Regions from separate parts of the Homo sapiens genome. Here all the other regions are linked to region 1. Evidence: promoter capture Hi-C in human tissues and cell types (Jung and others, 2019). All regions are on one chromosome and are shown on one strand. Each heading gives the region's core, a stretch centred on a gene start or on the middle of the fragment in contact. The rest is flanking DNA. Distances are from core to core; before and after follow the strand shown. Region 1 holds the start of AP5B1 (adaptor related protein complex 5 subunit beta 1). Region 2 overlaps POLA2 (DNA polymerase alpha 2, accessory subunit). Region 3 holds the start of CNIH2 (cornichon family AMPA receptor auxiliary protein 2). Region 4 holds the start of DPF2 (double PHD fingers 2). Region 5 overlaps PACS1 (phosphofurin acidic cluster sorting protein 1). Region 6 overlaps PACS1 (phosphofurin acidic cluster sorting protein 1). Region 7 holds the start of PACS1 (phosphofurin acidic cluster sorting protein 1).

What was found. The method cuts DNA at HindIII sites, captures the fragments that hold promoters and counts their contacts. A contact is called where the count stands out against the background at its distance.
Region 2: a fragment that was not itself captured here is called in contact with the fragment with the promoter of AP5B1 in region 1 in 2 of the 25 tissues and cell types used here (dorsolateral prefrontal cortex and spleen).
Region 3: the fragment with the promoter of CNIH2 here is called in contact with the fragment with the promoter of AP5B1 in region 1 in 1 of the 25 tissues and cell types used here (lymphoblastoid cells).
Region 4: the fragment with the promoter of DPF2 here is called in contact with the fragment with the promoter of AP5B1 in region 1 in 1 of the 25 tissues and cell types used here (spleen).
Region 5: a fragment that was not itself captured here is called in contact with the fragment with the promoter of AP5B1 in region 1 in 2 of the 25 tissues and cell types used here (dorsolateral prefrontal cortex and lymphoblastoid cells).
Region 6: a contact is called between a fragment that was not itself captured here and the fragment with the promoter of AP5B1 in region 1, in 1 of the 25 tissues and cell types used here (dorsolateral prefrontal cortex).
Region 7: a contact is called between the fragment with the promoter of PACS1 here and the fragment with the promoter of AP5B1 in region 1, in 2 of the 25 tissues and cell types used here (heart right ventricle and lymphoblastoid cells).

What each region holds. Positions count from the first base shown.
Region 1 is chr11:65,779,389-65,782,935 of GRCh38, forward strand. AP5B1 (adaptor related protein complex 5 subunit beta 1) reads right to left here and starts at 1,588. Exons shown (of 2, transcript NM_138368.5): 1 at 1,054-1,588; 2 at 1-954. The coding sequence starts at 1,203. RefSeq lists silencers at 662-931, 1,082-1,261, 1,302-2,041 and enhancers at 670-1,572, 2,302-2,959. The HindIII fragment of the contact is 21,769 bases long and covers 1-3,547 here.
Region 2 is chr11:65,279,311-65,282,857 of GRCh38, forward strand. POLA2 (DNA polymerase alpha 2, accessory subunit) reads left to right here. Exons shown (of 18, transcript NM_002689.4): 7 at 228-316; 8 at 1,682-1,837; 9 at 2,360-2,422; 10 at 3,169-3,211. Among named protein-coding and RNA genes, the nearest start is that of POLA2, 19 kb to the left of the region's middle. RefSeq lists an enhancer at 1-1,159. The HindIII fragment of the contact is 6,666 bases long and covers 1-3,547 here.
Region 3 is chr11:66,276,925-66,280,471 of GRCh38, forward strand. CNIH2 (cornichon family AMPA receptor auxiliary protein 2) reads left to right here and starts at 1,251. Exons shown (of 6, transcript NM_182553.3): 1 at 1,251-1,613. The coding sequence starts at 1,533. RAB1B (RAB1B, member RAS oncogene family) reads left to right here. Exons shown (of 6, transcript NM_030981.3): 6 at 1-568. LOC107984340 (a long non-coding RNA gene) reads right to left here and starts at 1,601. Exons shown (of 2, transcript XR_001748274.1): 1 at 1,571-1,601. RefSeq lists a silencer at 1,027-1,356. The HindIII fragment of the contact is 9,186 bases long and covers 1-3,547 here.
Region 4 is chr11:65,331,897-65,335,443 of GRCh38, forward strand. DPF2 (double PHD fingers 2) reads left to right here and starts at 1,956. Exons shown (of 11, transcript NM_006268.5): 1 at 1,956-2,022. The coding sequence starts at 1,991. RefSeq lists an enhancer at 2,208-2,257 and a silencer at 2,308-2,397. The HindIII fragment of the contact is 14,713 bases long and covers 1-3,547 here.
Region 5 is chr11:66,190,068-66,193,614 of GRCh38, forward strand. PACS1 (phosphofurin acidic cluster sorting protein 1) reads left to right here. Exons shown (of 24, transcript NM_018026.4): 2 at 3,419-3,506. LOC105369354 (a long non-coding RNA gene) reads left to right here. Exons shown (of 2, transcript XR_950219.2): 2 at 1-169. Among named protein-coding and RNA genes, the nearest start is that of KLC2, 66 kb to the right of the region's middle. The HindIII fragment of the contact is 5,080 bases long and covers 1-3,547 here.
Region 6 is chr11:66,122,577-66,126,123 of GRCh38, forward strand. The region is part of intron 1 of PACS1 (phosphofurin acidic cluster sorting protein 1); the gene reads left to right. Among named protein-coding and RNA genes, the nearest start is that of PACS1, 54 kb to the left of the region's middle. The HindIII fragment of the contact is 8,035 bases long and covers 1-3,547 here.
Region 7 is chr11:66,068,260-66,071,806 of GRCh38, forward strand. PACS1 (phosphofurin acidic cluster sorting protein 1) reads left to right here and starts at 2,013. Exons shown (of 24, transcript NM_018026.4): 1 at 2,013-2,583. The coding sequence starts at 2,228. It overlaps SF3B2 (splicing factor 3b subunit 2), which reads left to right. Exons shown (of 22, transcript NM_006842.3): 21 at 1-74; 22 at 415-1,049. The coding sequence ends at 486. RefSeq lists an enhancer at 1-25 and silencers at 1,573-2,192, 2,203-2,252, 2,403-2,532, 2,543-2,692, 2,753-2,957 and 1 more. The HindIII fragment of the contact is 13,254 bases long and covers 1-3,547 here.

The sequences.
Region 1 (3,547 bases), core at 338-2,837:
GTAAAAGAGATGGGTGGGCGGAGGCAGAGCAGGGTGCTGGGCAGCCAAGGTGAGCCGGCGGAGCAGCAACGCTTCATCCTGGGCTGTGAACAAGGCCTCACCAAAGGCCGCCTTGAGCGCAAGCATGGCGTGCAACAGTGTCAGCTGTGCTGTGCCTAGCAGCCGTACCAGCTGCGGCTTGAAGAGTGCCGGTGGCTGTCCCTGCAGACCCCGCAGGGCCCAGCCCAGCAGCCACAGGAGCTGGGCCTGGGCCACAGGAGTGAGCAGATAGGAGGTGTCCAGAAGCTGGATCACCGCAGCCCGCAGCTCCCGCGCCTCCTCAGGGCTGTGCTCTCGTGCTGTAAGGCTACGCTCCCCCTCTCCCTCCTCAGCTGCCGGCCAGCTGGGTGCCTGGGGCTGAAGGCGTCCATCGCCCTCCTCCACTAGTGTCCAATCCCAGGGACCACCCCCAGTTGGGGAGACCTTATCCGTGAGCAGTCCCCCCAGGCCAGCCCCAACCCGGGACTGGAGCACCAAGGTGTTGCGCAAAGCGAGGGCCAGCAACAGGCTGAGTGGCTGGACAGGGCCTTCCTGCCCCAGCAGGCCCCGCAGCAACCCCAGGGAGCCCCCCAGCAGCCCGGGCTTGCAGCTCTCTAGCTCTCGCAGGCACTCGCAGGCCGTGGCCTGCAAGGGGCGCTGTTCCGAGGCGGGGACAAAGCCTCGCCCCAGATCGCTACCCGCGGCCAGGCCGAGCAGTAGGGGCAGGAGCCGGCAGGAGGCGCCCGAGGTGGGGCCCAGCGCGCCGCCCGCCGCCAGGGCAGTGGTGGCCGCCAGCAGCAGTGGCCGACGGAGAGCTGAGGGCCGCGGGGGTAGGAGGACCAAGGTGTCCAACAGGGAGGTGGCGGCCACTTCGGCCGCAGAGGCGTCGGGCCACAGCTGCGCAGGGTACTCCATGCTCAGGGCCAGCAGGGAAACCTGGATGGGGGATTAGGAGGGAATCACGAAGATGAGGTTCATGACGCGGCGGGCTGGGGTGACCCTGCGGAACGGCGCAGGGGACGCGTGGGGGCCTACCTTGGTCTGTTCGCTCAGCTTCTCACTTCTCAGGTCGCTCAGCAGGTCGCGACCCAAATCCTCCCCCTCGGGACCTGCCATGAAGGCAGACGGGCTGGCCCGGAAGGCCCCCAAGCGCTGGGCCCAGGCGTCCCGGCTCAGGGGCCCCATGGTGAGGCGCGCGGGCCCCTGCGCAGGGAAGAGGGACCCTCAGGCCGCAGCCACCGGGAGCGCGGGGCCCGCTGCCGACCCCGAGGGGCTGCGGTCACCCCCAGACGCCGCGCAGATGCCGGCGGGACCCGCGCCCGGCTCCCACGGTGAGACCAGGGCTCTCGGGGCCGACGCCAGAGCTGGGCGCCGGGGCCCTCGCGGGACAGGACAGGAGCAGGGCGGGGGAGGGTGCGTGCCGAGAGCTCGTTAGGCCGCCTCCCTCCCGCCCGCGGCCCGCACCGAAACCACAGCGCCACCCCGGCCCCCGGCGCCGGCGGTAACGGGCCGCGCTCGCCGCCTGACTCAGCCGCCGCGGGCACTCAGGCCGGCCGGCTCCTTCCGGGCTGGCGGCGCGGGGCGGGGCGCGGCGCGGGGGCGGCCGAGTCCGGGCGGGGAGGGGCGGGGCGTAACGGGGCCACCGCCTCCCGCAGGTGTCGACTCGCAGGTTTCGCGGGGGCTGACTAACTGTCCCGCCGCGCAGGCCCCCTTCCCCGAAACCGCCGCAGGCCGGGGCAGGAAAGGCGGAGGGGAGTGGGTAGGGGTGGCGGAGCGGGGTGGGCCTGGGCCCCAGATGCCGGGTACCGCGGCGCAGGGCTGCGATCCCGCGGCCCTCGGCGGACAGCGGCCCGGTCCCACCAGCGCCCGCCAAGCCGCGCAGGGCGGCAGCCAGCGCGCCCCCCGCCGGCGCCCGGGCACACCGCACCCTGCGCCAGACGCGCGGCCCCGGGGGGCGTGGGTGCGGGTCCTGGGGCTCCCGGAGTGGCCCCTGGGGGTGACCAAGGTGCGGTCGCAGGGCGCCCGCAGGAAAAGCGCCCCAGCTGAACCGGTCCGGCGGGCGCCGCAGGGCTTGGCTTCGCTTCCCTGACGCCTGCCCGGGCCCCCAGCCCGCTCGGCTTGGGGGCGAGGAGCCGGCGCCGCGGTTGCGGCCAGCCAGGAGCTTCTGACCTTTGTTTGCCCGAGGCCGCGCTGGCGGCCCGCAGGGGTCGTGACGGCGAGGGCGGGGCAGGGCCCTAAGTCGAAAACAACGGGATCCATACTCGGGAAGTGCGGGCTGTCAGGGCCTGGCCGGTCACGGGGCTCGAGGCATGCCTAGCGATGGGGAAAACAGGCCCAGGAGGAGGGCGGCCTTGCCAACCGAGATCTGGGGCCAAGCCGGGCCGGAACCCAGCACTCCAGACTTCAGTGGGCTGGATTCTGGCTGTTTGGGGGCATTCGGGGGTCTGGGCGGCGGTCTCTCCCAGGCCAGAGGCCCAGGTTGCAGGTGCCCCACAGACCACCGGTTTCCAGGGCACAGAACCGCCGGCGCCCAAACCTCACCACCCCTCTGGCTCCAATTAGCCGCTTTGAAGATGAAACAGGCCTGAGCCCCCATGCAAGCCAGTGCCAGCTGGCCTCTCCCTACCCCATCCTGCTCCAGATGGGAGGTGGTGGAGAGTTGAGGGGTGGAGAGTGCCAAAAAGGAGGCTGTCTGGGTGCCCTTGGGGATGGAGAGATAGAGACCCACTCGGAGGGACAGGTCCAGCCAGAAGGCCCGGTCCCGGCTCCTCTAGGCCCTGGCTCCACAGTTGACTCACAGGCAGCAGCCCCAAACTACTTCCCTCTAGGTGCCTCAGTTTCCCCATCTATAAAATGGGAGTGATAACTCCCACCCAAGAGGCTGTGGGGTGAGGCAGCCTGGCTAATTAAACCCAAGATGAAAGAGGCAGGATGAGAGCAGCCCTGGGGAGGGGAGGCAGCCTGCAGTAGGAGCCAGTCTGGTTTCTCTGTCTGAGCCCAGAGGGTGCTGGTAACTGCACATCCCCGGCCCTCACCACCCTCACGGTGAGGCAGGAATGATCATTAAACTTCTTGCAGAGTTGAGAAGACAGGTTTCCAAGGATCAGGGGGCCTGACACTGGCTCTGGCCCCGGCTCAGCCTCTGACAGCGTGGCCTCTGCACACCTCCTGCCTGAGTCTTGACTCCTTGAGGCTGAGGGTCTGGAGGGAGGGAACCCACTTGTGGTCTCCAATACTGCAGTGGACGAATCCGCATGGACTTACTGAGGCTCACAGCAACCCCAGGTACCGAGAGTGGGTATCAGATGAGGAAAGGGAAGCCCACAGAGGTACGGTCTCTCAGTCACAGAGCCCCTCAGAGGTGGAGCCTCGACTTCCACAAACAGCCCCTTGTTGCATCTGACCTGGTCCTCCCCCCACACCAGGTACCCTCGGCCCTCTTGGGTGTCCAGGTCCCTGGATGGGCCCTGTTCTCACCTGTCTGCTCCCCTATTGGCGGGTGGTGCTGGCTCTGTCCCTGGCAAGGCCA
Region 2 (3,547 bases), core at 1,048-3,547, 500 kb before region 1:
GAATTGTGCTATGGGGTCTCCTGTGGCCAGATGGAAGGCCAGATTCAGCAACCAAATATCGGAAAATTGGCAAAGGTTTTAGAAGGTTTAAACTGGCCAGATGTCCAGGCACCCTTCCTGCTTCTGTAAAATGACTGACTTTAATATTTTACAATGTGCTGTATTTTCTCTTCTTGGCAAGTGAAATGTCTTAAACATAATACTTTTTTCCACTTCTGGGATTGTAGTTCTGACCTGTAAGATAGAAGAACTTGGCAGCGAACTCAAGGAACATTACAAGATTGAAGCTTTCACTCCTTTGCTAGCCCCAGCACAGGTAAGAGTTGTTCTAATAGTTCTCACTAATTAATATTACGTTTTTAAATCGATGACCAAGAGGCATCCTTCTTGCTTCCTTTTTCACTTCTTGTCTGTGTTCTAGTTTGAACATCTGTCTTGGTTGAATTTGGGAAAATGGGCCCTTCTGAAGAAAGATTTGTAAGTGCTGTCTGGTTTTGTGGCCAGAGAGTGATTTTCTTCCCACTTGGATTAGAGTCTTGCACATAAGCAGAGACTCAAGGCCTTGTTTCCCTTGGTGGTGAGTCAGGTAGCTCCCCGGGGATTTCCCACAAATAGAAGCATTCACGTATCGAGATAAAAGGACAGCAGCGACGGTGGGGTTTTCAGAATCTTGTTCTCTGGACAATGACTCACAGTCTCTCCCCTGGTTTGGTCTCTTGTTATAGACAAACTGCTGCCAATAGTATCTTTATATCATAGTTTAATCTGGCATATATACCAGTGCTTTCTCTCTAGAATGTTTTCTAATCTAAGGGGAAATATATTCTAGAAGTTTCTTTAAAGTACCTTTGTCAATGTTTACATTCAAAGAATGATCAGTTGGGGAAGTGATGCAGAACTGTGTCATAGAAGGAAGTGTTAGAGGACTTGGAAGGAAGTAATTGAGGGAAGGCAGGGAGGCACAATCACTGGGAAAGATGAGACTTCCTCTGTTTTCTCCCAAGAGTGGGAACAGAACAGAGGAAGCCATGGAGACAGAGATTTTAGCTCAATTAATAAAGAACTTCCTGTTAAGAGGTTGTATGGTATGTGGCTAAGGATATGGCTCTAGAGCCAAATTTCTGGTTTCAAACCCAAGCTTCACCCACAGTTTGACCTTGACTAAATTATCTAACCTTTCTGTTGCTTGTTTTCCTCATCTGTAAAATGGATACAGTAATATCCACCCGATGGTTGTTGCAAGGATTAAATGAGTTAATACATATAAAATGCCTAAGAATACATTTTAGAACAGTGCATGGTATTTAGTAAGCTCAAGAAATGTTAGCTATTATTAAGTAGTTATAGCTGCCCAAAGATGCAGTGGGCTGCCCTGGGGTGGTGAGGACAGGGTGGGGTAGGCATCCAGGGGCAAGTTCCCCTACACTAGAGATGCTCACACTTAGGCAGCCTCCTAGGAAGGCTCAAGTGCTGGGTGGATGGGTGGACAAGATGCCCTTTCAGAGTTCTTCCATCCTGAGAGTCAGTGATGACGCGGTAGTCACCTCAGGGTCAAAGCAATGCCCTGCCAAGAAATGTATTTGTTGTTTGCAGTTTGTTTTGCTATTCACCCTATCGACTTCAGATTTTGAGCTCCTGCTCCAAAGACTGTCATTCTTATGCTGTGACCTTCCTTTGGTAGGAGCCTGTCACTCTGCTGGGCCAGATTGGCTGTGATAGCAACGGGAAGCTGAACAACAAGTCAGTGATTCTCGAGGGAGACCGGGAACATTCCTCGGGTGCTCAAATTCCAGTGGATTTATCTGAGCTTAAGGAATATTCTCTGTTTCCTGGACAGGTGAGATTGGAGGAGTTCCACCAGAATGCAGGCGCACTCTTTACCCCTGTAGTGTAGGTGCTGTGCCATGCGCAGCTGCTCCTCAGTTCCTGTCTCTGCTGCCATGGGGTGCAGCTGGAGCACATGCCCCAGAGCAGACACCACTGTTGGGATTCCTGTTTCCCCCATGCTCTGACCCAGGCTCTGGGACCTGACTGCGCAGCCTCAAATCCCAACTCCCCGCTCCATGAGGTGCATGACTGTGCACAAGGTACTTAACCATCTAAACTACAGTTTCTTCACTCACAAAATGGAAATAATAATTCTTACCTCATAGGATTGTTGTGAAAATTAGATCACTTATATAGAGCATAATTATTATTACTAATGCAACGCCCTTAATTCGTTTTCTACAAAAATGCCCTAAGTTTATGATTACAGAATGAGAGTAGTTGGACAATGCTTTTAACTGCCTCAAAATAATGTATTCCAGACCTCATTGATCTCCACTGCTTAGCAATCCTGTTTGTTTTTGTCTTTCAGGTTGTAATTATGGAAGGAATCAACACCACTGGTAGGAAACTTGTTGCCACCAAACTCTACGAGGTACACAGCAGTACCCCCACTTGCCTCTTGGTTTGCTTCAGACAAAGTATGTCTGGAAGCTGTCTGTTCTAGAAACTGGTCCTTTTTAGGAGCCCATTTATTTGTTAGTCAGTTCTCCATCTGTAAGTGGGAACCCACCCCTAGGCCAGGGGTCAGCAAACCCTTTCTATAAAGGGCCAGACAGTAACTCTTTTAGACTTTGTAGCTATATGGTCTCTGTCACAATGACTCAATTCTGCCTTTGTCTACAAAAGCAGCCATAGAGGACTCTTAAACAGATGACTGTGGCTGTGTTCCCATAAAACTTTATTTAAATAGTGGGCTGCAGCCAAATTTGGCCCAGAGGCCGAAAGGTTACCTATCCCTGCTCTAGGCAACAATCCTCCAGAGATTTTCGTAGAATGCCAGGAAAAGTAGCAAGAAACCATTCTCTCCCATCCTTGCCTAGAAGTACACTGATACTTTAGGCACCTGTTTTGCTCCCACTTGTTGCTGGGTATTTTATGACAATTGAGTAGTGACCTCCCATTACCTGGGTTTCTTTGCCCTCTGAGCAGTATAGAAAAATGGCAGGTCCCATCAGATCCAGGGAGCAAGACAGAGGCACATCCTTCCCCTGCCCTCTCGCTCCTCCCCACTGTCCTCCCATCACACACCTGCACCACCCCCAACCTGGTGCCCTCCCCTTTCCTTACCAAGGTGATGCCTGGCGCAAGACCTTACTTGAGCTTTTCCCCTGTTTTTAGGGTGTGCCACTTCCATTTTATCAGCCCACTGAAGAGGATGCAGGTGAGTTTCGGTTCAAATATTGTTTTGCCAACAATGAGGATGGTAGACATGAGTCCAGGAGTGCAGTTTCCCAAGCCCAAGAAAGCTGCAGAAGCTGCTGAAGAGCAATGTGACCAAGCAGTGAGGGCGCCACCATCATGAGTTCGTAGGTTTTTTGTCACAAGACCCCTGGTCTGAGCCCAGTGAGCGTTGGTCGTGCTGTCGCCTGAGTTCTGCCTACATGAAGCATGTTGTTTAAAGACTAATGTTTAACAGGTATTTTTGAAGGTTGCCTTGGAAAGGAAAAGATGTACGATTTCAAAAAGAATTTATTTACATGCAGCATGGGCAGATGCG
Region 3 (3,547 bases), core at 1-2,500, 500 kb after region 1:
AGACAGACCCATGCGCTGCCTGCCCACCGTGCCCCTTTGTCCCCATGTCAGGCGGAGGCGGAAGGCCCACCGTGCCAGAGGCTGGGCACCAGCCTTAACCCTCACTCTGCTAGCACCTCCTCCCTTTCCCCAAGGTAGCACATCTGGCTCACTCCCCACTCCGTCTCTGGAGCCCACCAGGGAAGGCCCTCATCCCCTGCCGCTACTTCTCTGGGGAATGTGGGTTCCATCCAGGATTGGGGGCCTCTCTGCTCACCCACTCTGCACCCAGGATCCTAGTCCCCTGCCCTCTGGCACAGCTGCTTCCTGCAAGAAAGCAAGTCTTTGGTCTCCCTGAGAAGCCATGTCCCTCGTGCTGTCTCTTGCCTGTCCCACCTGTGCCCTGCCCTCCAGCTTGTATTTAAGTCCCTGGGCTGCCCCCTTGGGGTGCCCCCCGCTCCCAGGTTCCCCTCTGGTGTCATGTCAGGCATTTTGCAAGGAAAAGCCACTTGGGGAAAGATGGAAAAGGACAAAAAAAATTAATAAATTTCCATTGGCCCTCGGGTGAGCTGAGGGTTTTTGCAAGGAAGTTGTGGTGGCCAAGTGTGGTCTGTGGTCTAAGCCCAGCCTTGGGGTGGGGGGATGGAACTGGAACCCTGGGCTTGGTGGGGTGCACGGGGGTCCTGGCTTGGTTTCTGTGTCCTAAGGCTGCTGGCAAAAGCCCTTGACCCCGTTTCCTGAGGCCAGGAAAGCTGCTTGTGCTTCTGTGGTCTGTCCCCAAGGGCCCAGCACCGTTCTGTCAGGGAAAGAGGCAGGCGGCCATCAGCTCATACCTGGCGTGCCGCCGCCAACTCCCGCGGGGCACACGGCAGAGGTGTGGGGTCGCGCAGCCGCTGAGAGGGCCCCCACTGCACCTGGCCCAACCTCCTTCAGCGCCCCCCAAAACCCCACTGCTCCCATTCAGCCCCTGTCCTGGCGTCATTGTGTGTCCCAGCCAGGTGCTTCTGCCGTCTCCGACAGTGACAAGTGCCTCGCACTTCAGCCTTTGCCCTGAGCGCCCGCCCGAGGGGGCCGAGTGCGGCTGTGCCGGTGGCTGGAGTGCCGAGGGGTGCGGGGTGCCGGGGGCGGCCGCGTCTACGCTGTCCGGAGGGTGAACGGCCGCGGGCTTGTCGGGGCTGGGGGTGGCGCCCGAGCCGGGCGGGCAGACGAGGGGCCCGCGGAGACCCAGCCCCGCCCGAGGCCGCTCGCGCGGCGGCCCCGCCCCCGGCTCCGCCCCGCCGGCTTCGCGGGCTGGAGAGCGAGGGAGCCGCGGGCGAGGGATCGCAGGATGAGCGATCGGGGCCCGGGCAGCCGGCAGCGGACGCGCCCCCCGAGCCCACCGGCCCGCGCCCCGCGCCCCCCACGGCCCCGCGGTCCCGGTCCCGGCCGCATCACCCACGTCCCCCGAGCCCCACGGGCCATGCCCGGCCGGCCCTAAGCGCGGGCCGGGGGGCGTCCCCTTGCGCCCGGGCCCCGCGCTGGCGCCCCCCGGGCCGCCGCCCGGCGCGGGGGCCATGGCGTTCACCTTCGCCGCGTTCTGCTACATGCTCACCCTGGTGCTGTGCGCCTCCCTCATCTTCTTTGTCATCTGGCACGTAAGGCCGGGCTGGGGCTGGGGCTGGGGGCGGGGTGGGGGGCAGGGGCCACGCGGAGCTGGAGGGACCCAGGGCGGGTGGTCTCAGAGCCCAGGGGAAACTTGCTATCCCCCAGCCGTCGGCTTGTCGGCTTCGCCCCCATTAACACCCCCCGTGGTCGGCTTTCTTCCCGGGGCCCCCCTTCCTCCGCCGCCCCCGCCTGTCTGTGTGTATGTCAGTCGGTCTCTGACCCCCTCCTCTGCCCTCGTCCTCTGCTCCCATGCAGCCCGTGAGGTGGGGGGTGGAATTCTGGCATTTTTGTTGCTTTATCTTCTATGTCCCCCCCCACCACCATCCAGCCGCCTCCATTAGTCCGTCGGGCAGTTTGTCTGTCTGCTGCCCCCCCCCCCCCGCCTTTGTGGGTTTTTCCAGCCAGAGTGATGGAGCTGGTTGCTATGGCAACTGCATCTGTTTACAGGACCCACAGATCTCAGAGTCCATTAACCCTTTGCCTTCCCAGCCCCCTCCCTGACCAAGCAGCAGTTGGCTCTCATCAGCCCCCAGAGACCTAGCCCCCACCACCGGCTCACCTTGGGTTTCCCTACCCCTCCTGTTGGGGGCTTCCCAGCCCCCCAGGTTTCCTCTCCATTTTCCAGCTTCCCTCCTCTTCCTGTCCCCCTTCCCCTTTGTCTCTCACATACCCCTTGGTCTGTCCCTCGCCCTGGCCTAGCCTCACACCTGGTTCTTCAAAATGTCCATTCCTCATCCTGCATCCGACCCATCGCTTCCCCCAGGCTCCCTCCTCCTCCCCTCCCGCTCCTCTCCTCCAGGGCCTCCTCTGCCTGGCTCCCGTCCCCTCACTACAGAACTATCAATCAGCCTCCAGCTGGTTGTTGGGGGCCCCTGGCCCCACTTTACTGCCCTCCGTCCCCACCCCCACCCAAACCCCGTGCCTGTTTCTGTAACAGCCTGCCCAGCTCGGCCCTGGCTGGCTCAGCTCAGCATCCTCTGCTCACACCTCCCGCGCACACCTCCCTGATTGTCATTCCCTTTCAGGGGTCCTCTTATCCCTCCCTCAATCCCATTTCCCATAGCCCTTCCCTCCTTCCTCCCGGTGCCTCACCTGCTTCTTTCCCGGGCTCTCCACTTCCTCTCTCCTTTCTCTTCCTGGGACCTGCCGCCTGCTCCATGGTTCCCCCTGCGCTCCCTTTGCCATCCCCTGCCACCTTGCTCTTTGACATCGGGAATCCATAGACTGAACCCCTACTGTGTGAAGAGTGAGCCCCCAAAGGCACCTCAGCACACACCCCAGCTCCAGCCCTGTCACTCCTTGGCCTGGCTCTGCTCTCTCTCTGGGTCTTGGTTGCTTTGTCTTTCCCCCTCTCCCCCGCACCCCGAGTTACTCTATTTTTCTTTCTGTGGGGTAGGGGCAGGAGGGCTAGGGTTCTAAGGACTGGAGGGAGCTGGGGGCCACAGGCTAGGGAATGCAGAGCTGACCAGCTCCTGGGAGAAGGGCTCCTGGAATTCAAGAAGCCTCTTTTTGGGGCCTTCCCCACCCAGGGCCTTCCCACAGCCCCTGTGGGGTCCCTGTCCTCAGGGGATCCTCAGCAGTTTATCCACCACGCCTGCATTGATGCTTCCCAAAGATCAGGCTCTGGGTGGCTTTGAGGGGGTCAAGGATGAATAAAACCCAGACTTTGCCCTTGTGGAGTGCCCAGGCTGGGAGGAAAGGCCCAAGCTTTGAAGAAATGTCTTTGTTCATTCAACAGATATTGATTGAGCACCTGTGTGAGGTACTCTGTCCACTCAGCCATTTAGCTGGACAATCTTAGCAAGTCATTTGTCCCAAGTCTGGTTCCTCGCCGGCAAAGTGGACCTGTGCACATCAGAGTGCCTAGTGCGGCCTGCTGGGTGGTAGGGGATAGGAGGCGTGGTCCTCAGTCCACAGCTGCTAA
Region 4 (3,547 bases), core at 706-3,205, 450 kb before region 1:
AAAAAAAAAAAAAAATTAGTCAAGCTACATAAGATCTATGTGCTTCTCTTTATGTATATTTCAATTAAAAGTTTGAATTTAAAAATAGTACTAATAATAAATAGGCTAGCTGCATATAATTGGAAAGGCAGCTTATGAACCCAGCATCAATAGCTTTCAGTTCTTTTAGGATTGTTTAAGAAAAGGTTACATCAGCTGGCCAGGCGTGGTAGCTCATGCCTGTAATCCCAGCACTTGAAAGCCTAGGCGGGCGGAACACATGAGGTCAGGAGTTCGAGACCAACCTGGCCAACGTGGTAAAACTCTGTCTCTACAAAAAATACAAAAATTAGCTGGGGGCACCTGTAATCCCAGCTACTCGGAAAGCTGAGGCAGGAGAATCACTTGAACCCAGGAGGTGGAGGTTGCAGTGAGCTGAGATAGTGCCACTGCACTCTAGCCTGGGCTGGAAGGAAGAATTTGTTAAGGAGCGACAAGAGCAAAACTCCGTCTCAAAATAAATAAATAAATAAATATAAACAAATAATGTTGTTACGAACATTCTTGTACAGCTTTATTTTTTTTTTTTTGAGACGGAGTCTCGCTCTGTCACCCAGGCTGGAGTGCAGTGGCGCGATCTTGGCTCACTGCAAACTCCGCCTCCCAGGTTCACGCCATTCTCCCACCTCAGCCTCTCCAGTAGCTGGGATTACAGGCGTCCGCCACCATGCCCGGCTAATTTTGTTTTTGTATTTTTAGTAGAGATGGGGTTTCACCATGTTAGCCAGGACGGTCTCGATCTCCTGACCTCGTGATCCGCCCACCGTGGCCTCCCAAAGTGCTGGTATTACAAGCGTGAACCAATGCTCCTGGCCTGTTTTTTTTTGTTTTTTTTTTTTAAGAGACAGGATCTTGCTATGTTGCCCAGGCTGGTCTTGAACCCCTGGGCTCAAGTGATTCTCCCACCTCACCCTCTCAAGTAGCTGGGATTACAGGCATGAGGCATTGCACTCAGCTTCTTGTACAGCTTTCTTGTGTGTATATCCAGGAGTGGACTTTGCTGGGTCATAGGGTATGTGTATTTTCAGCTTTAGTGATTATATTTATATATATATATATATATATACATATGTATATATATACATATGTATATATATGTGTATATATATATATGTATATATGTGTATATATATATGTGTATATATATATGTATATATATTTTTTTTCCTTTTTTTTTTTTTTTTTCTTGAGATGGAGCCTCGCTCTGTTGCCCAGGCTGGAGTGCAGTGATGTGGCTCCAGTGGCTCACTGGAGCCTCAAACTCCTGGGCTCAAGTGATCCTCCCACCTCAGCCTCCCTAGTAGCTGGGATTACAGGCATGCACCACCATGCCCAGCTAATCTTTTTTCTTTTTCTTTTTTTCCTTTATTTATTTATTTATTTATTGAGAAGGAGTCTCGCTCTGTCGCCCAGGCTGGAGTGCAGTGGCGCGATCTCGGCTCACTGCAAACTCCGCCTCCCGGGTTCACGCCATTCTCCTGCCTCAGCCTCCCGAGTAGCTGGGACTACAGGCGCTCGCCACCACACCCGGCTAATTTTTTGTATTTTTAGTAGAGACGGGGTTTCACCGTGTTAGCCAGGATGGTCTCCATGTCCTGACCTCGTGATCCGCCCGCCTCGGCCTCCCAAAGTGCTGGGATTACAGGCGTGAGCCACCGCGCCCGGCCCCGGCTCCTGCTCCTCTAAATATTAGAGGCAAGCCTCGAACCGGAGCTCCGGGATGCATGCCAATCTCCGGTTGCGCCTGCGCGTCGGGCTCCCGTGGGGTCCACGCATTTCCTACCCGGCCCCCGCGAACAGGCGTAAAGCTCTTTCTTCAGTGCTCGCTCTAGTGCGCGCGCCCGGACGGCGCCTGCGCAGAGGGCAAGGAACCTGGTACCCCGGTGCGGTCCCGGCGCCTGCGCGCTGCGGACTGTGGGGCTTCTCGGCCCGAGGCAGAGGAACAGGGAAGATGGCGGCTGTGGTGGAGAATGTAGTGAAGCTGTGAGTGGTCGTTTCTTTCTCTCCTAGGGCGGCAGGTTTTGTAAAGGGCCTGGGAGTAGGGGGCGGTGGGGGAAGGGACTAGGCGGAGAGAGGGACATCCCCGGGAAAGCCATGTTGCGACTCCTGGTGGGGAGGGCAACAGGAGACTCCGGAGAAGACGTTGCGCTTCTTTGGAAACTTGTGGAGGCCCTGGTGGGGGCACACTGGAGCCCCGACGGGCGGCATCCCTGCGGGGCTGTGTGGCCTCAGCGTTCCTCGGGGCTGACGGTTTCCAGAGCATGGCGCCCTGCCTGCACGCGAGACTCACCGTCCCGGTCCTCTCCCGAGACGCCTCAGTCCGGAGGAGCGGGGCCGAGGCCCGGGCGGCCCTACGGCTGGCCCGCCGCCCACCCCGCCCCGTCCCGTCCCGTTCGCTGCAGCAACAGGCTCGGCGGCCCCTGCGGAGTGCACTGCGGGGCTGGCTGTTTCAGTTCCAGGCAGCCCCGTGATGTTTGGGAGGATCTTGGGTGGCAGGTACCTAAGACTACAAATATTCTTGGGAAGAATTTATCGAGGAGCGGATCCAGAAGGGAAGGAACTTCAGGGGAGTGGGCCTTGGCCCCGTCCAGTAGCAGCCATCAAAAACCTGCAACTGGACCGAAGCCGTTCAGGACAGCTTAGCCTAAAGGGGCATCTAGGTGGGCATTCTTCCTATTATACGATACCATTGTGCTGGTCAGATTTCAAGCAAAGTTAAAGTTAATAGCTGTTGGGGCCATGGACGCTGGCCTATGAACTGCTTCCTGTGAGTTAAAGATGCTTTGGGACTTGATTTATTCCTACAGAAGAATCAGAATGAGTTTTAGATTGGGTTAATGCATGGTGGGCGAATAGAGCTTCTTTTAATGGGTATGTTGGGCTTGGTGCAAGGGTGGGAAAATTGAGTGGTGTCTAGCTGTCCAGTCAGGGTTTTTGCATTTTGACTGGATGACGAGGTAAAGGTTCGGTAACTCTTCTAAGGGACTCACAGCTTCTCATCTGTCTTTGTCGTGGCCTGAGCCCCACTCTTCCTAAGAGCCTTTTTAAAGAGTAAGTTGCTTCTCCCTCCTGCCTGAAGCCTTTTCTTTGAGAATGCTTTCCCACTTCCATTAAGCTAAGTGCCTTTCCTCCTCTTGTGGTTTGTTTTTTTTTTTTTTAAGTTGCTTTCTGCTCTATCCTGCTGTCTCTTTCAGCCACCCCTCCTCCCAACGCTATTGTCTTTCTCTCTGATCTGCCCACTCCAGTTTCCCCAGCTCTTTCTTCAGGCTGACATTTTTCTCAATTTAGAAATGACACTGTTGATCTACCATTTATCCAGTTATCCTTCCTGACTCAGATGTTCTTTCTTTGTTTCCCTGCGTCTTTGTTGACTTCCCTCATCCCATTGTAAGGGGATGTTTTACACAGGTTTCTCCAAAAATAAAAAGGAAGATTCTCATTGTACTGGGGGAGTATCAGACTTGCCTAGGTTTTGGGAGTTAAACGTAGTGAGGTTCTTCGTGTTGGA
Region 5 (3,547 bases), core at 442-2,941, 410 kb after region 1:
CCTTTCTTGTGCCGATGAACTTTCTCAAAGAGCAATAGTAACATTTCTCTTTTTTATAAAACATCTAAGCTTCTCTTTGTTCTTTGGACATACTGAAGACTACCTGATCTACAGGTATGCTCCCAATTGCAGCAGTTTTTTTCTTCTCAAATAAAACATTTGAATTTCAGAGATTTGTTTCTATTTTATTTGATTTTGGCAAGCCTCAGATGAGGACGAACGTTGGGCATATTCAGTCTTTTCCATTGGCTCATCCCAGTCATGTCCCATTTCATTTTGAGCCATCATTTTTTGCCTTGATGAAGGCACAAAATTCAGTTAAACAATGTACGTAGTTAACTACATTTGTTTTTGTTTGTTTGTTTGTTTGTTTTTTGAGATGGAGTCTCCCTCTGTCACCCAGGCTGGAGTGCAATGGCGCAATCTTGGCTCACTGCAGCCTCCACCTCCCGGGTTCAAGCGATTCTCCTGCCTCAGCCTCCCACATTTCTTTTTATTTTTAAGAGAATGGGATCTTTCTATGTTGCCCAGGCTGGCCTCGAACTACTGGGCTCAAGCAGTCCTCCCACCTCAGCCTCCTGAGTAGCTGGGACTGCAGGAGTTAACTACATTTCTGAATAGCCATTTGTGAACTGTAATAATCCCTTTGATATCAGTAGAACCAGAGTTCCCTGTGGGACAGCACATCTCTGCTCTGAAGGGAAGGGAGAAACAGGCGGTACTGTGGGCAGTCATTGAAGGGGGGATTTTGGAGGAAACAGCATGAACCCAGATGGCTCCAGAGCAACAGATGTCAGGAGAGTGTTTTAGGACATCAGAGTTGAGGGCACCCAGGTCACAGGCTGAGGAGGCGGTGACGTGATGGGGAAGGGCCAGGCCCTGGGATGAGGGGTGGTTCACTTCCTACTGCTGCTGTGACGAGTGGCCACAAACTTCGTGACTTCACACAACACACGTTTATTATCTTGCATTTCTGCAGGTCAGAAGTCCAAAATAGGTTTCACTGGGCAGCACGGAAGGTGTGGACAGGGTGGTGCTCCTTCTGGAGGCTGCAAGGAAGGACTGTTTTCTTGCCTTTTCCTGCTTCTTGAGGCTGCATATTCCTTGGCTCCTGACCCCCTCCCTCCATCTTCAAGGCCATCAGCCATATCTCCAGTCCCTGCTTCCTCCTTTGACTCTTTCCTCCCTGGCCCCCTCTTTTAAAGGCTCTTGTGATCATATTGGGTCCACCCAGATAATCCAGGATAATCTCCCCATCTCAGGAGCCTTAACTTAATCACATCTGCACAGTCCCTTTTGCCATGGGACTTTGCCAAGGTACCATATTCACAGGTTTTGGGGATTAGGAGATGACATCTGGGTGGTGGGGGCTGGGTATTTGGTCCACCACAAAGAGATTAGTTAGAATCCAGCTCTGTCATTTACTGGCTGTAAGTGAATTTGGGCAGGTCACTACTCCACTTGAAATGTTTTTCTGTTGCATGCGTAGAACAGTGAGCCCCCCAACACACATCCACACAGTCCTGTTTTTGAGGTCTAGGTAAAATGATATAGATGAAGAGACCTGATAAGCTTTCATACATTTTATTTGATTTTGATTCTAGCTTAAAGCAAAGAAAGAGATTTATTTGTTTTTCTTTGTGTTAGTCAGCAGATCTTTGAAAGTACTTGGGTGACTGGGCGTGGTGGCTCACGCCTGTAATCCTAGCACTTTGCCAGGCCGAGGCAGGCGGATCACCTGAGGTCAGGAGTTCGAGACCAGCCTGGCCAACATGGTGAAACCGGTCTCTACTAAAAATACAAAAATTAGCCAGACATGATAGTGGGTGCCTGTAATCCCAGCTACCCAGGAGGCTGAGGCAGCAGAATTGCTGGAACACGGGAGGTGGAGGCTGCAGTGAGCCAAAATCATGCCACTGCACTCCAGCCTGGGAGACAGAGTGAGACTCTGTCTCAAAAAAAAAAGAAAGAAAGTTCTTGAGTGAGGTTAATTCAAAACCAGAATTTAGTTCTGTTGACCTGGATTTGTCCTCCTTTAAAAAAAAAACAAAACATGAATTATATTAATTTCTTCACATACTCTTGTTAATCTGATTTTAGCTAGAAGCCATTTTAGGAAACTTAATGTAACAAATATTTGCTGAGCAACTATATACTGTGCCCAGCATTTGGGCAGATGTTGGGGAGAGAGCGGTGGAGAGGCAAGCCTGCTGCCTGCCCGCCGGAAGTTACACTCCAGTGGCATGATAGGAATTGTGCTGGGGACACATCACAGACTTTGCAAGGCATCGGGGGAAGTTCTCCTGGCAAAAATGCATAACCCAAGGCTGAGGAGGCGTTAGGTGGCAGGGTGGTGCCAACAGAAGGAACAGCAGCCTCCAAAGGCCCTGAGGCGAGAGAGGGTGGCACTGCCACGGAGCCAAAGGAAAGTTAGTGTGGCTGGAGCTGAGGGAGGGCTGTGGAGATGCAAGACAGGGGCCTGAGCAGGGCCTAGAGGGCCTCAGCACGGAGGAAAAAAGAGGTATGAAATCCAGCCGGATTCTCTGGACTTGTCATGACTCTGGTAAGCAACATCCCTCATGTGTACCGTTCCCCAGAACCTCTCCCAGGAGAAGAATGTGTAAAGACTTTGACCACCCAGGCAGCCATAGAAAGGCAGCTTCCAGAGTCTCCCTCCCACTCCTGCTGGAAGTCCAGGGTGGCCCTGCTGTGGTAAGGCCAAGGTAAAGTCAGAGCAGAGTTACTGAGACTCCACAGTGAGGGACAATCCTGTCACTTTTGAGTTGCGGGGAATTTCTTGATTTGTGGCACTGAAGATTTTCTGCATATTTGGAGCAAAATGCAGCTGAAATAGAATTTGTGACCATTTAACTATTTCCTGCCAAATGATGTATGTTTTGTTTGTGTGGATTATCTCCTCTTGCTAAAGATTTACATCTGTACATCTGTCAGGTGTGATCAGGTGGAAAGTAGAAGAGGAACTGTGTGATTCTCCTCCCTTGGTCTCCTCTTCCCCCTCAGAAATGGCTCCAACATACTAGGCATGGAGAATATTTTGCCTTTGGCTTGAGATGAATGATATCCATGGAAGTTCATGCAATAATGTACCTTTTGACACTTAACTTTAGAAGCTGGGCATGGTGGCATGTGCCTGTGGTCCCAGCTACTCAGGAGGCCAAGACGGGGAGGATCCTTGGGCCCAGGGCTCCAGTCTGGGCAACATAGTGAGACCCATCTCTTAAAAGTATAAACATTAAGTAAGAGGGGATGCTCTTCTACTGAGAGAGGGGACCCCTGGGACTGAGGACAGCGTTCTCACATTCTTACTTCAGGTAAGGCAGATTGCCTAACCAATTGTTCATCACTTTTCTCGCAAGTTCCTCGCATATGACAGCATCTTCCTTCTCTGTTTTTCTAGGCTATTCAGCTTGACCCTGAAGAAACTCGTCATGCTAAAAGAAATGGACAAAGATCTTAACTCAGTGGTCATCGCTGTGAAGCTGCAGGTGAGTGGGGCAGGACTGTTTGTTCAGGGCCCAGGGAAGCT
Region 6 (3,547 bases), core at 648-3,147, 340 kb after region 1:
CATGGGAGGAGGTCAAAGTATCAACATCAACAGGAGTTTGAAAGAAGTCGATTTCGACTCATGGATGATTTCAAGGTGCTCACGACTTCAGTGGAGGAAATAACTGCAAAAGTGGGGGAAATGGCAAGAGAACTAGAATTAGAAGTGGGGTCTGAGGATATGACTGAATTGCTGTAATCTCGAGATAAAATTTGAACAGATGTTTCTTGTGGATGAGCAGAGAAAGTGGTTTCTTGAGATGGGACCTACTCCTGGTAAAGATGCTGTGAACACTGTTGAAATGATAATGTATTACAATAATTTATAACAATAACTATGTATTACATAAACTTAGTGATAAAGCAGCAGTAAGGTTTGAGAGAACTGAATCCAATTTTGCGAGAAATTCTGCTGTGGGTAGCATGCTATCAAATGTATTGCATACTTTAGAGAAATCTTTAATGAAAGGAAGAGTCAGTGTGACAAACTTCATTGTCTTATTTTAAGAAATTGTCACAGATACCCCAACCTTTAGCAGTCACCATCCTGATCAGTCAGCAGCCATCAACATTGAGGCAAGACCCTCCACCAGGAGAAAGATTGCAACTTGCAGAGGGCTCAGAAAATTGTTAGCTTTTTTTTTTTTTTTTTAATGAGACGGAGTCTTGCTTGGTTGCCCGGGCTAGAGTGCAGTAGCATGGTCTTGGCTCACTGCAACCTCCGCCTTCTGGGTTCAAGCAATTCTCCTGTCTCAGCCTCCCAAGTAGCTAGGATTATAGGCACGTGCCACCATGTCCAGCTAATTTTTGTATTTTTAGTAGAGACAGGGTTTTGCCATGTTGGCCAGGCTAGTCTTGAACTCCTGACCTAAGGTGATCCACCTGCCTCGGCCTCCCAAAATGCTGGGATTATAGGCGTGAGCCACCACGCCTGGCTCAATAAGCCATTTTTATTTTTTTATTTTATTTATTTATTTATTTTTTTGGGACAGAGTTTCGCTCTGTCGCCCAGGCTAGAGTGCTGTGGCGTGATCTCGGCTCACTGCAAGCTCCACCTACCGGGTTCATGCCATTCTCCTGCCTCAGCCTCCCAAGTAGCTGGGACTATAGGCACCTGCCACCGCGCCCGGCTAATTTTTGTTGTTTTTAGTAGAGGTGGGGTTTCACCGTGTTAGCCAGGATGATCTCGATCTCCTGACCTCGTGATCCACCCACCTCAGCCTCCCAAAGTGCTGGGATTACAGGCGTGAGCCACCGCACCCAGCCCATTTTTAAATTAAAGTATATACTTTTTTTTTTTTTAAGACAATGCTATTGCACAGTTGATAGACTACTGTATAGTGTAAACATAACTTTTATATGCACCGGGAAATAAATAATTTCATGTCACTTGCGTTATTGCAGTGGTCTGGAACTAAAGCCACAATATCTCCAAGGAACTGTTTACTTGCTGTCTCGCTATCAGACTGTGAGACTGTCAAGGGCAGGCATTCTGCGCAGCTTTGGCAATACCGTCTAGTTGTAAAAAAGACGGAACTGTTTCAGGCCATGGGCATTCTAGTGGGAAGACAAATATTTAATCTCAAGTGTGCAAAATGCTGCCATAGAACAGGAGTGCAGTGGAGCATAATAGGAGCTCTGGACCTTGTCTGAACACATAAAAGAAGCCTTTTTCCTAAGGAGTGATTGCTTAAGTTGAAACCTGAAGGATGTGTGGGAATTAGCTAAGTGAAGAGAAGGAAGAGTTCCAGGCAGAGAAAACTGTGGACATAATGGCTTTGGGCAAGTTACTCAGCTTCTTCTCTGCTTCAGTGTCTTCATCTATAAAATGGGAATAATATAACCTAGAGTTATATAGTTAGGGTTGTTGTGATCATAAAGACAGTATTTTAAGTCATCATCTTCTAATATTTCTGAAGTGGGGCATAATTGGTTCATTCAGGATAACTTCTGGGTCCACGTTTATGTATTGAATGGCTAAATGTATGGATCTGCTTACTGCACTTTAACCTTGTTCTTTACCTGCTCTGAAGCCTTTCTTGCATTTTAATGACAAGAACGGTGTATTTTGCCTTTCAGTGAGTTTGTTAATTATGGAGATCAAACTCTGCCTTTCATTACTGCATAAGTCTCATGGTGTGTCAGACATCTTAGGTCAGTGTGTGTCATCAGTTAGAATGCTTTCACCTTCAAGAAACAGAAAAGCCAGCTCAATGACTTAAACACACAGATGTTTATCATTTCAGAAAACAAAAGTCTGGGGCAAGGGTGAGTCCAGTGCTGGTTAACTGAGCAGCCTGGCAAAGGCATCAAGGAGCCAAGTTCATTTTGCCCTCCTGCTTTGTCATCCTCAGTACAGGCTTGCCCGCTGGCTCCCCATGGTCTCAGGTGGCCTGTCGCAGTTCCAGGTGCCACAGGGAGACACCAGAACATCCCATTGAGGAGGAGGAACTGTTTCTTTCCATGTCTGTCTCTTTATTGATGAACATTTGGGTGGCTTCCACCTTTTGTCCATTGTGAATAATGCTGCTATGAACATTGGTGAACAATAAATTCTTTTTAAAAATACAGCATCTAGGGGCTAAGCTATGAGGATGCAGAGGCATAAGAATGATACAATGGACTTTGGGGACTCGGGTGAAAGGGCAGGAGGCAGGTGAGGGATAAAATACTGCAAATTGGGTACAGTGTATACTGCTTGGGTGTTGGGTGCACCAAAATCTCAAAAACCTACGGAAATAAAAAATTAAAGTACCACATCAATTAATGCGTAGACCAAATCTTATTGCAATTAAATTTCTACTTTTAGCATCATTTGCTACAATGAAGTTCTAGTATTTGAAATATTTTGAGCCACTGACTTGCTGTTTAATGGGATTTGATCCCATAGTAAAGAAGATATAAACCAAGTAAGTCAAAAGGATCTTAGAAGCAATTTTATTCCATCCTCTATTTTGAAGATGTTCTGGATTCAGAGTGATTTTCCAGGGTCAGAGAGCTAAGTCATGTTAAATAATTCAAAGTGTATGAAAATACACATTACTCACAGATTCAAGTAGAGTAACCAGGGGTGTCTTTTGCCTCTAGTCTTACTCTAACCAGTGTCTAACTATGCCTGTGTAGATAAAATAAAATAGAAAACTGGGATAATTCAGGTATTCAAGTAATTGAAGAAAATCAGTCCTGTTTAAAATATCTGGGCAGGCCGGGCATGGTGGCTCATGCCTGTAATCCCAGCACTTTGGGAGGCCGAGGCAGGCAGATTACTTGAGGTCGGGAGTTCAAGACCAGCCTGGCCAACATGGTGAAACCTCGTCTCTACTAAAAATACAAAAATTAGTCATGCATGGCGGCGCATGCCTGTAATCCCAGCTACTCGGGAGGCTGAGGCAGGAGAATTGCTTGAGTCCAGGGAGCAGAGGTTACAGTGAGCCGAGATTGTACCATTGCACTCTAGCCTGGGTGACAGAGCAAGACTCTGCCTCAAAAAAAAAAAAAAAAAAATGTGGGCAACTCTAATACTTAGCTTTTAGGTATTTGCTTCAGTAGTCCACTTTATGTGTTAGTGT
Region 7 (3,547 bases), core at 763-3,262, 290 kb after region 1:
TGCGGGAGCAGCAGGCTCAAGTAGAGAAGGAGGACTTCAGTGACATGGTGGCTGAGCACGCTGCCAAACAGAAGGTAGGCGCTTCCAGGGGCGCTGGGCTGGGTGAGAGCCAGGGACCCTGGCCTGCCGTTTTCAGTGGCATGGTGCCCTCTAGTGGTGAGAGTGAGGGTGGCCTCTGCTTGCTGCTCTGTGCTTCCTTAGATTTGGAAGTCTTAGAAATCCTCCAGTGGGCTGCCCTCTTTAAGGACGATGAGGGGGAGGAACTCAGCCAAGTCTGAGAGGGAGCTCGAAGAGAATTCAGATTCAGCGCCTTTCCCACAGACTTCTATGTCTATGTCAGGCTGCCCACCCTTGTTTTGGGGGTCCGGGGGTGGTTCAACCTGTCTTAACCTGTGTCTCTTTCTCCCTATACAGCAAAAAAAACGGAAAGCTCAGCCCCAGGACAGCCGTGGGGGCAGCAAGAAATATAAGGAGTTCAAGTTTTAGGTCCCCTCACACTAGCCCTTTTTTTGGCCCTACGTCTGGATGCCTGGGCTTCACACAAGAACCACCTCTCCCGCAGTTCCCAAGGACTTGTCATTTCATGTTCTTATTTTAGACCTGTTTTGTAAATAAAGCTGTTTCCCAAGGAAAGAGATGAATATTTAACACTCCTGAGCCTCCCTCATCTCCTTTTAGCCCCTTCTTGCAAAAGGACTAAAATAGTCTCTTTCTACAATCACTGGGCTGCCCCAGTAACCACGAACATAAACTGGGATTAGACGGCGCATTTGACTGGTGGTGACGCCAACCCCAGGCTGAAATCTGTGTTTCACCACTGCCCTGCTTTGTAGGAAGGCTTGGGGGAAGTACCTCTAGGTCTGGTTTGACCTTACTACTTTGTCCTTGGGGAGTAAAAATAGCCAGATTAGCGCCCTAGCGCGGCAGAGGAAGTAACAGTGGGCTTGGGAAGTAGGCCAGGGCAGGCCTTCCCAACTGACCTTGTGACCAGAAGTTCAAGTCCTTACCTGTGCGACAACATAGCTCAAAAGCTAAATTGTCTTGAGTCCATATGAACCCTTGGGTTCAAGCAACACTAGTCGCTGGGGTTTGGGATTTGTATGTGGGATGGGGGGACTTACTTTCTCCAGGTTGTAATCTGGTCCTGAGCAGCCTTTCTGACAGACTAGAGCAGGCTGGATCACTGGCTCCCATGGGCATTTGCCAGCCTGTGGGGAGGGTAGTCATGCGCTGCTGTTGTACTACTGTTGGTGTTTAAGTGCACCAGTGGAGGCGCTCACTTGCCGGAGGGTTCAAGATGGTCTCGGGGTTGTGGGGGGCATGATCCAGATAGGACGTGGCAGCTGAGCTAGGCCTTAGGAGGAATGGAATTTTAGAAATTTGGTAAGCAACAAAGCACTGGCACTCTAAAGAGGCATTTGGGGGGTAGGGAAAGAAGAGGAAGGTTGGCTCCAGATGGGCCCCGGGGTAGCTTGAGAATTCACTTATGCGAAGAACCTTCTGGACTCCAGGTCCCTGAGCCCCCGCTTGCCCTCGGGGCGGGAACTTCCCGGATCACAGGCACCCGCGGTGGCAGCGGGCCCCGGGTCTCCGCCGACCTCTCTGTTTGCCGGGGCCGCAGGGCAGGGCTAGGTCGGCAGGCGGAGAGCCGGCTTCCCCGGGCAGACCCCCACCGCTGGGGGCGGGTTCCGCATTGGCTCCGAAGACCCGAGGGGCCGAGGCGCGCTCCCGCGGCGGCCCCCTCCCTGCAGGGACCGAATCCCGGAAAAGCCGGGTTTCCGCTGGCGGGGCCGCGGCCGGCCGTGGGCGGGGAGGGGAGGAGCGGGGGCAGACTGGCAGCGGATTTGAGGGCAGGACCCGTGGGCGCGCGCTGGCCACAGACCACCCCTTCTACTCCGCGGGAGCGAGGGGCGCGCGTGGCTGCACGCAGGGCGCGAGCGCGCCCGGCCCGGCCCCTCCGCGCTGGGTGGGGCCGCGCGGGCCGGGCTCCCCGCCCCCTCCCGGACACGCCCACCCGTGTCGGCCTCGCGAGCCGCAACAGGCAGCGGCGGTCGAGCGCGAGGCCCGCGCGCCCAGAGGCCCCGCGCGTGCGTGCAGCTCGCTGGCTGCTCGCGCTCGGGCAGGCGGGCTGAGGAGGCTGCCGCGCCCCCGCCGCCGCCGCCGCGGGGGAAGCCTGGGAGCCAGATCGGCGTCGCCTCGGCCTCCGTAACCCCCGCCTAGCCGGGCCATGGCGGAACGCGGAGGGGCGGGCGGTGGTCCCGGAGGCGCCGGGGGCGGCAGCGGCCAGCGGGGATCCGGGGTCGCCCAGTCCCCTCAGCAGCCGCCGCCGCAGCAGCAGCAGCAGCAGCCGCCGCAGCAGCCGACGCCCCCCAAGCTGGCCCAGGCCACCTCGTCGTCCTCGTCCACCTCGGCGGCGGCTGCCTCCTCCTCGTCCTCGTCTACCTCCACCTCCATGGCCGTGGCGGTGGCCTCGGGCTCCGCGCCTCCCGGTGGCCCGGGGCCAGGCCGCACCCCCGCCCCGGTGCAGATGAACCTGTACGCCACCTGGGAGGTGGACCGGAGCTCGTCCAGCTGCGTGCCTAGGTGAGCGCGGGAGGGTGCGGCGGGGCGCCGGGGGAGCGGGGTGGCCGCCGGGGCCCAGCCCTCCCCGCCCCAGCGCCCATGGGGTCCCCGCCCTCCATCTCCCCGACTGTCCCGCGGCCCGGCCTGGCTCCAGCCAGGCCTCCCGGGACTCCTGCCACGGGGACCCGCCCTCTCCTGGCAGCCCCACCTTCTGCCTGGGGCCGGGACCACCCTTCTGTCCTCCCCGAGGGACCTTCTGGCCTCGGCCCCGGGCTTTCTCCGATTGGGCTGACCGAATCCGGCCTTCCTGGCAGTCAGTTTCCCTGAGTAAGTCACTCTCCTGCCTCGCCGGCGCCGGGAGCTGTACATACATGGATGTGGTATAGATCTCTTGATATTATTATTTCCCAATAGACTCAGCATGTGCCAAACTCGATTGTCACCTCTTGCAGGTAAAGCTCATATAATCACCCTAGGGGCTTCTCATTAGCCTTCGGCACACATGTTCATTTGAACTTCATATTACACACGTTCTGTCCCAAGCGCTAGGCTCTTAGTTTTGGGGCCCTATTTAATGTGTCCTCAAGTGTATTTTTACCTCCCCTCCCCCACTAAAACTGGTCCCAGAATCTCCCAGCTCTGCAGGGCTGTATGAAATTACTGCCTTGTTCCTAAATTCAATCCATTGCTCTCTGTCTGTTGGAACCATCTGGGGACTTTCCTTCCATTGGCAAAATAGGCCTGAGTTTGGGAATATTTTCTGTTTTTGTATTGGCAAGGCAGTCTGTCTCCAACTCTGGGGACAGGGTGCTGTGTCTTACAGTTTGCCACTTGAATAAGACGGTGTGTGGAGCTGGTTTCACCCAGAAAGCCCAGAGAAGTGCCTGGAGGTGTTCTTTTTTGTCACCTTGTAGCTGAGTTGATTCTGTTGCCTTGAAGTCTTGGGCTGTCTCCTCACTGTTGGTTAGGCAGACGGATGTGTAAG